Linked DNA regions of Homo sapiens: region 2 is linked to region 1. The links are contacts of gene promoters, found by promoter capture Hi-C in human tissues and cell types (Jung and others, 2019). All regions are on one chromosome and are shown on one strand. Each heading gives the region's core, a stretch centred on a gene start or on the middle of the fragment in contact. The rest is flanking DNA. Distances are from core to core; before and after follow the strand shown.

Region 1 (3,981 bases), core at 862-3,361:
CTAGTGACAGGGCCACAGCATGTCCAAGGAGGCCCCAGAGGAGGTCCCGGGAGTCCTGGGAGAGCCTGGTTAGCCTCCCTGAAGGGAGGAAGTGGGGTTTTGTGAGAGGGATGGTGCAGCAGCCCCCACACCTGCTACTCCGTGTGGCCGGGTCCAGCCCCAGGCAAGGTTCCAGGCATGCCCCTGGGACAGACGTGGGAGGGAGACCAGCAGGCAGGTCCCCCTCAGGGAGGTATGGAGCGGGTCCCCGGGGCCAGGTGGAGCCCCTCACACCTGTGTCCTCAAGGACCCACACCAGGACAATGGCCATAGGCGGGCACCTGCAGCCGCCCTGGCCAGCAGTGAGACGGGCAGAGAGCCCAGCCAGATAGCCCGGTTCCTGCCCCCTCCCGCCTGCCCGCACAGAGAGGGCTGCATGCAGGTGAGGGTCCATCACCTGAAGAGCTTCACCAGCCCCGAGGCCATGAGCCACTGAATCTCTCAGGGGGTTTTGGCGCTTGAGGTTCCCCAGGTCATTCTGCTGCCCAGAGAGGGTTGAGGACCTCTGACCTGGAGCCCCAAAGGGGAAGGGTACCCTAAGACCAGCCAGCCATCTACTCTCAGGTGGGAAAGGGGTAGGGTTTAGATATGGCCCCCTCCCCTCCACGTCCTGAAATTACCTTGGGCTGTGCTGGCCGAGAGCCGCGGGGACCAGATTTGAGCTGGACGTGAGCTTTATTCCAGACGGAGCAGCTACTTTGTAAGCGATCTCCCTGGGATCGATATCATGGAGGGGCACAGATGGGCTTCAGCTGTGCTGGGTGGAAGAGAAAACATGCCCTGTCGGCCCCTCAGCAAGTGCTCTGCTCTCTGGACTGAGATGCAGGTCAGCAGCAAGCAGGGAGGCTTTGGGGGTGCTGGGGGCTGCTTTGAAAGGCACCCCTGAGCTAAGACTTGGCTGTTGGGAAGGAATCACCTCCCTCCCTCCAGCCGTAAAAAGAACTGGACATCAGCTTCCAAAGAAGTCATCAGCAATGCAACTGTTCACATGGAGGATACTCCCTGCTTGAGGGGTCAGACAGGCCTGCTGGGCAACCCAGGAGGCTTGGATGACCGTCTACCCCAGTGTTTTTGGGATGGAAAGTTCCACATTCTGAGAACCCTCAGTCCCTGGGCAACCTGGGGTGGTTAGTCACCACAGCTTGTGGCTTGGGCCCATGACAGCAGGTAGAAATGACGTGGACTGCCGCCAGCCGGGCACAGTGGCTCACGCCTGTAATCCCAGCACTTTGGGAGGCTGAGGCATGTGGATCACTTGAGGTCAGGAGTTCGAAACCAGCCTGGTCAACACGGTGAAACCCCATCTCTGCTAAAAAAAAAAAATATATATATATAAATTAGCCAGGCATGGTGACGTGCACCTGTGGTCCCAGCTACTCAGGAGGCTGAGGCACAAGAATCACTTGAACCCGGGAGGTGGAGGTTGCAGTGAGATTGCACCAGTGCACTCTCCAGCCTGGCAACAGAGCAAGACTCTGTCTCAAACAAACAAAACAAAACAAACAAAAAGACGTAAGATGTGGACCGCTGGAGAATGGGGGTGCTGCCTGCAGTCAAAACGGAGTGGGGGTGCCCAGCTCAGGGCCAGAATGATCCTATTCCCGGCACTTCTCAGTGAGGCTCTGTGGCTCACCTAAGAAACCAGCCTCCCTTGCAGGCAACGGCCTAGCTGGCCTGGTCTGGAGGCTCTCTTCAAATATTTACATCCACACCCAAGATACAGTCTTGAGATTTGACTCGCATGATTGCTATGGGACAAGTTTTCATCTGCAGTTTAAATCTGTTTCCCAACTTACATTAGGGGTTTGGAATTCTAGATCGTATTTGAAGTGTTGGTGCCACACACACCTTAACACCTGCACGCTGGCAACAAAACCGTCCGCTCTGCAGCACAGCTGGGGTCACCTGACCTTTCTCCTGTCCCCCCCACTTGAGCTCAGTGGCTGGGCAGCAGGGGATGCATGGCCACTGGCCGGCCAGGTGCAGCTCTCAGCTGGGGTGTTCAGAGGACGCCTGTGTCCTCCCCTCCCCCATCCCTCTGTCACCCTTGGAGGCAGAGAACTTTGCCCGTCAGTCCCATGGGGAATGTCAACAGGCAGGGGCAGCACTGCAGAGATTTCATCATGGTCTCCCAGGCCCTCAGGCTCCTCTGCCTTCTGCTTGGGCTTCAGGGCTGCCTGGCTGCAGGTGCGTCCGGGGAGGTTTTCTCCATAAACTTGGTGGAAGGGCAGTGGGCAAATCCAGGAGCCAGCCCGGGCTTCCCAAACCCCGCCCTTGCTCCGGACACCCCCATCCACCAGGAGGGTTTTCTGGCGGCTCCTGTTCAATTTCTTTCCTTCTAGAAACCAGCATCCAGGCACAGGAGGGGAGGCCCTTCTTGGTGGCCCAGGCTTTGGCGGGATTATTTTTCAAAGAACTTTAGGAGTGGGTGGTGCTTTCCTGGCCCCCATGGGCCCCTGCCTGTGAGGTCGGACAAGCGCAGGGAGTCTGGGGCCTCTCAGAGTGCAGGAAGTGCGCACAGGGTGCTCCCAGGCTGGGGAGCACAGGTAGGGGACGGTGCGTGGGGGATGGCGCCTGGGGCATGGGGGATGGGGTGTGGGAAACGGCATGTGGGGCGTAGGGGATGGGGTGTGGAGGATCGGGGGTGGGGATGGCGTGTGGGGTGTGGGGGATGGGCCGTGGGGGGGTGGGGCCTGGGAAACAGCATGTGGGGCATGGGGTGTGGGGGTGAGGTGTGGGAAAGTGTGTGGGGTGTGGGGGATGGGGCATGGAAAGGGCGTGTGGGGTGCAGGGGATGGGGCATGGAGGTGTGGGGGATGGGGTGTGTGGGGTGTCGGGGATGGGGCATGTGGGGTGTGGGGGATGGGGCATGGAAAGGGCGTGTGGGGTGCAGAGGATGGGGCATGGGGGGGTGGGGATGGCGAGTGGGGCTGGGGCCTGGGAATGGTGAGTGGGGCATGGGGATGGCGAGTAGGGGGTGTGGCGTGAGGATGGCTAGTGGGGCGTGGGGATGGCGTGTGGGGATGGCGAGTGGGGGGTGGGCTGTGAGGGACAGTGCCTGGGATGTGGGGCTGCAGCCCTAGCTCACAGCATGGCCTTATGACCCCGGCCACCTTCCTGCCCCAGGCGGGGTCGCTAAGGCCTCAGGAGGAGAAACACGGGACATGCCGTGGAAGCCGGGGCCTCACAGAGGTGAGCAGGGACTGCCACTGGTTTTGTCCTGGGGCCCAGTGGGGGCCAACATCACCTCCTTCCCCTCCCATGGCAAAGAGCCAGCCCGCGGGGTGGCTACTGCAGTGCCCCCCAAGGAGGGTGTTCCCTGCTCGAGAGGAAGTGACCGCTCCAGCTTGGCCTTCCCTGGGACTGGGGTGCAGGCGATTTTATCTTCTTTGCTCCATTCTGTTCCTTCCAGATAATCGTGTGTTCTTCATCAGGTTTTCCTCAGTTCTTGAGAGCTTTTCTGATGCAAATCTGCTTTCACCCCAGGGCGGTCACCGGCTCTGCTCACACCAGCCTCCAAGGGTGTGGGTGTCCCGGGAGTGTGGGTGTCCCGGGGGCGTGGGTGTCCCAGGAGTGTGGGTGTCCCGGGGGCGTGGGTGTCCCGGGAGTGTGGGTGTCCCGGGGGCGTGGGTGTCCCGGGAGTGTGGGTGTCCCGGAGGCGAGGGTGTCCCGGGAGTGTGGGTGTCCCGGGGGAGTGGGTGTCCCGGGAGTGTGGGTGTCCCGGAGGCGAGGGTGTCCCGGGAGTGTGGGTGTCCCGGGGGCGTGGGTGTCCCGGGAGTGTGGGTGTCCCGGGGGAGTGGGTGTCCCGGGAGTGTGGGTGTCCCGGAGGCGAGGGTGTCCCGGGAGTGTGGGTGTCCCGGGGGAGTGGGTGTCCCGGGAGTGTGGGTGTCCCGGAGGCGAGGGTGTCCCGGGAGTGTGGGTGTCCCGGGGGCGTGGGTGTCC
Region 2 (3,981 bases), core at 1,031-3,530, 160 kb after region 1:
AGCTTTGACTACTAGTGCACTAGACAGAAGTCAGAGCAGGGAGCACCTGTCCCCTCTCAAGTGATTATTCTTTCCTGGCCACCTCTACCACAAAATACCAGTGGGGCCAGGTAGTGACAAGTGGGTCTTTTTTACTTGGACGATTCGTTGTGCTGTGCCTTTGTTTCATTTGAGCACAGTGGCTCACGCCTGTAGTCCCAGCTATGGGAGGGCAAGGTGGGAGGATCGTTTGAGCCTGAGTTCCAGACCATCCTGAGCACCATAGGGAGATCCTGTTTCCATTTTAGTTTATTTATTTTTAATTGAGGTGGAGTCTTGCTCTGTTGCCCAAGCTGGAGTGCAGTGGTGCAATCTCAGCTCACTGCACCCTCCGCCTCCTGGGTTCAAGCAGTTCTCCCACCTCAGTCTCCCAAGTAGCTGGGATTACAGGCACCCGCCATCATGCCCAGCTAATATTTGTATTTTTGTAGAGACGGGGTTTCACTATGTTGGCCAGACTGGTCTTGAACTCCTAACCTCAGGTGATCTGCCCGCCTTGGCCTCCCAAAGTGCTGGGATTACAGGCGTGAGCCACCATGCCCGGCCTGCCTGTTTCTGTTTTATAAAAGAAAGGAAAATCTATTTATATCTATTCTCTTATTTAGCAATATTTAATGTTTTATTGTTAAAGGTCAGTGTGGTAAAACAAATAGTATAGAAGAAATCATTGAAAAAGAAACAGCACTTAGACAGAAATGCTGTAAAAGTGGAAAGGAGAAGGTGAAATTACTTGCAGGTTAGATGGTTGCATACCCAGGTCATCTAAGGAGCAAATGAAAATCTGTGACTGAAGAAAGAATTCACCAAGTTAACCAGACACAAAATTAACAAAAACATCAGTAGCTTTCCTATAAATATAGGCTATAATGGAGGGTCATTTTTTATTTTTATTTAGAGACAGGGTCTTAACTGTCACCTGGACTGGAGTGCAGTGGCATGATCATGTTTCACGGCAGCCTCTACCTTCTGGGCTCAAGCGATCCTCTCTTCTCAGCCACCTGAGTAGCTGGGCCTACAGGTGTACATCACCACGCCCAGATAATTTTTATTGTATTTTTTATAGAGGCAGTGTCTTGCTATGTTGCCAAGGCTGTTCTTGTACTCCTGGCCTCAAGCGAACCTCCTACCTCAGCCTCCCCAAATGCTGGGATTACAGGCATGAGACACTGCACCTGACCAGAAGTCATTTTTTCAATAGCAACCCCCAAAAAAGATAAAATACCTAGTAACAAATAGGGAAACACCTATGTGAAAGGTATTATAACATTACTAAGGAACACAGGCCCTGAATAAGTGAAAGTTCTGTTGATTCTCACATTTTGCTATACAGTATCTTAAGATGTAAAACCTTCCTTTAAAACACAAGCGGATTCTAAAGTTAAAACAGAAAAGCAAATATGCCAGACTAGTCAAATTGTTTTAAATTCTGCTGTTTTTAGAACATTGTAATTGAAACAGCATGATGCTGGCCCTTTAAAAAGATTCCTGGAACAAGAAAGTCCACAAATAAGCCAAATACACAGGAACTCGGCGTGGCACAAAGGGGCCGTGTGTGATCAGGAACTGGAACTTTGCAACAACTACCCATGCTCAGAAGTTTGGGCCACCTTGAAAAGAGAAAAGTTGGATTAGACTCCTTTTTATACTAAGGGAAGTTCCAAGTGGTCAAGTATTTACGTGTAAAAAAATACATATATATGAAACCATAATCATAAGATACTTTTTTTGTAAATTGACTATTATTGTATAAATTTATAGAGTATAAAGTGATCTTATAAATTATGCATACATTGTGGACTAGTCAAGCTAGTTACATCCATCACCTCAAATACTTAACATTTTTGTAGTGAGAACATCTGAAATTTACTCTTAGCAATTTTGAAATGTACAATACTCAATTTTTGACTGTATTCACCATGCTGTACAATAGAACTCAGAAAAAGAAAAATATAGTCCTCCTTTCTAAGATTTTTGGACCCGTTGCCCCTTTATTTGTGTTTTTCCACTAAGTGATCTAGTGAATTCACATCGATTTTTTTAAAAAAGGATTGACATTAAATGACATCTTTTAAAGTCAACATGGGGGAAAACAAGGTTAAAAAAACTGGAACCCTTGCCGGGCACCATGGCTCATCCCTGTAATCCCAGCACTTTGGGAGTCTGAGGCGGGCGGATCACGAGGTCAGGAGATCGAGACCATCCTGGCTAACACAGTGAAACCCCGTCTGTACTGAAAATACAAAAAAAAAAGCCCAACGTGGCGGCAGGCGTCTGTAGTCCCAGTTGCTGGGGAGGCTGAGGCAGGAGAATGGCGTGAACCCGGGAGGCGGAGCTTACAGTGAGCTGAGATCACGCCACTGCTCTCCAGCCTGGATGACAGAGCAAAACTCCATCTCAAAAAAAAAAAAAAACTGGAACCATCTTGGATAAAATGTACGACAAAGTACTGATGAGTTTAATGTTAACAGAACTAGAAGTCAGCAAGAAGACCAGCAACAAGCCTTCGGATAAGTGAGTTCTTCATTAGCTTTAAGAGAGTGGGAGCAGAGGAAACGGGTACCGTGAGGGCAGACCTGCTTTCAAGAACAGATGAACAGCGGCTGAGAATGACTCCAAGAGGTCGCAGGAGCAGAGCTGCATTTCAGTGGCAGGTGACTGGGCATTGTCCTGCAGCAAGGCCCTAATATCCCAGGAGAGGGCAGGATCGAGGGCACAGGGAGTGGGGGCAGGTGAGGGCTGGCCATAGGTGTGGTGCCGGGGGAGACATTGGTTGTGACGGTGACCATGGCCCTAGGCTGGAGGGTGGGGGGGTCATGTAACATGAAGATTTAGGAGGTAAGCTTGGAGGGCGCAGCTGTTGGCAATGATGGTCTGGGTGAGGACAGACGGGGAACTGGGGCCAGAGCATGGGAGACAAGACCTGATGGTCGTCCAGCAGTCAGGGACGGTGACAGGAGCCAGTGATGGAGGCCCTGAGTGCAGGACAGCCCTGAGGCCTGGAGGTGGGCCAGCCAGTGAGAAGGGCGCACCCCCGCCGGGGTGTCCAGCAGCATGGAAGGAGCATGGCCTGGAAGCAGCAATGGGCAGAAGGGAGGGCCTCGCCCCAGATGCAGCCCCAGGGGGAGGGTCACGAAGTGAGCAGCGGGCCTCTGCCCCCTCCACGGAGGCATGGGCACCCTGTGGTGGGTTTGGAAGGAGAAACCAGGCAGTGGCCAGGCCCAGGCCTTGTGCAGCAGCCCGGGAAGTTCAGGGGAAGAGGAGTGCAGGTGTTAGGACCGCCTAGTAAGAACGTTTAGGAGATGGAGGTTTTGTCAACAGACTGAATTCAGAAAGGGCTGGAGGGGGCAGAGGTGACAGTTGGGCCATGTGAGAGTGAGAGGCCCAGCAGTGATGGGGGACAGGCTGGTGGGCTCTGGTGAGGGAGGTCAGCTCGAGGGATCTGAGACATTGTGAAATGATGGTCTCTCAGGTAAATTTGTGAGGGTATATTAAATTCGAAAATGCCCACACCTTTGACCCAGTAAGTTCCTTTCACTCACGTAGAATGATTTCTAGTACTGTTCTCGCACACACAGAAAATACCTTAAATGTCCTTCAATAAGGAAACAGACCATGTGCTAAGTCCATGCATGTGTGATATTCTGACCATGCAGCTTGAACCAAGATCTAGATGTCCATTTGGAGTGAGTGTCAAGAAATACCACGTAAGAAAAGAGAGCAGTGCCGTCCTGCCACCACTGTGTGTGCGGCCCGTGTACGTGTGAATAACGACGGCTCAACTCCAGAATGGAGTTCTGGAAGGCTGCGAGCAGGTATGCGAGAATCTTTTCTATGCATATACCATTTTGTATTTTTTTAATTTTGTGTCAAAAGAATGTTTAAAAGTAATGACAAATTATTAAGAAAACAAAATGGCCCCACCCACTGTGTTGTTTCTTTACC

What was found. The method cuts DNA at HindIII sites, captures the fragments that hold promoters and counts their contacts. A contact is called where the count stands out against the background at its distance.
Region 2: a fragment that was not itself captured here is called in contact with the fragment with the promoter of F7 in region 1 in 1 of the 25 tissues and cell types used here (spleen).

Annotation. Positions count from the first base shown.
Region 1 is chr13:113,103,680-113,107,660 of GRCh38, forward strand. It overlaps F7 (coagulation factor VII), which reads left to right and starts at 2,112. Exons shown (of 8, transcript NM_019616.4): 1 at 2,112-2,226. The coding sequence starts at 2,163. The HindIII fragment of the contact is 23,631 bases long and covers 1-3,981 here.
Region 2 is chr13:113,265,102-113,269,082 of GRCh38, forward strand. CUL4A (cullin 4A) reads left to right here. Exons shown (of 20, transcript NM_001008895.4): 20 at 1-2,007. Among named protein-coding and RNA genes, the nearest start is that of MIR8075, 4.2 kb to the left of the region's middle. The HindIII fragment of the contact is 7,439 bases long and covers 1-3,981 here.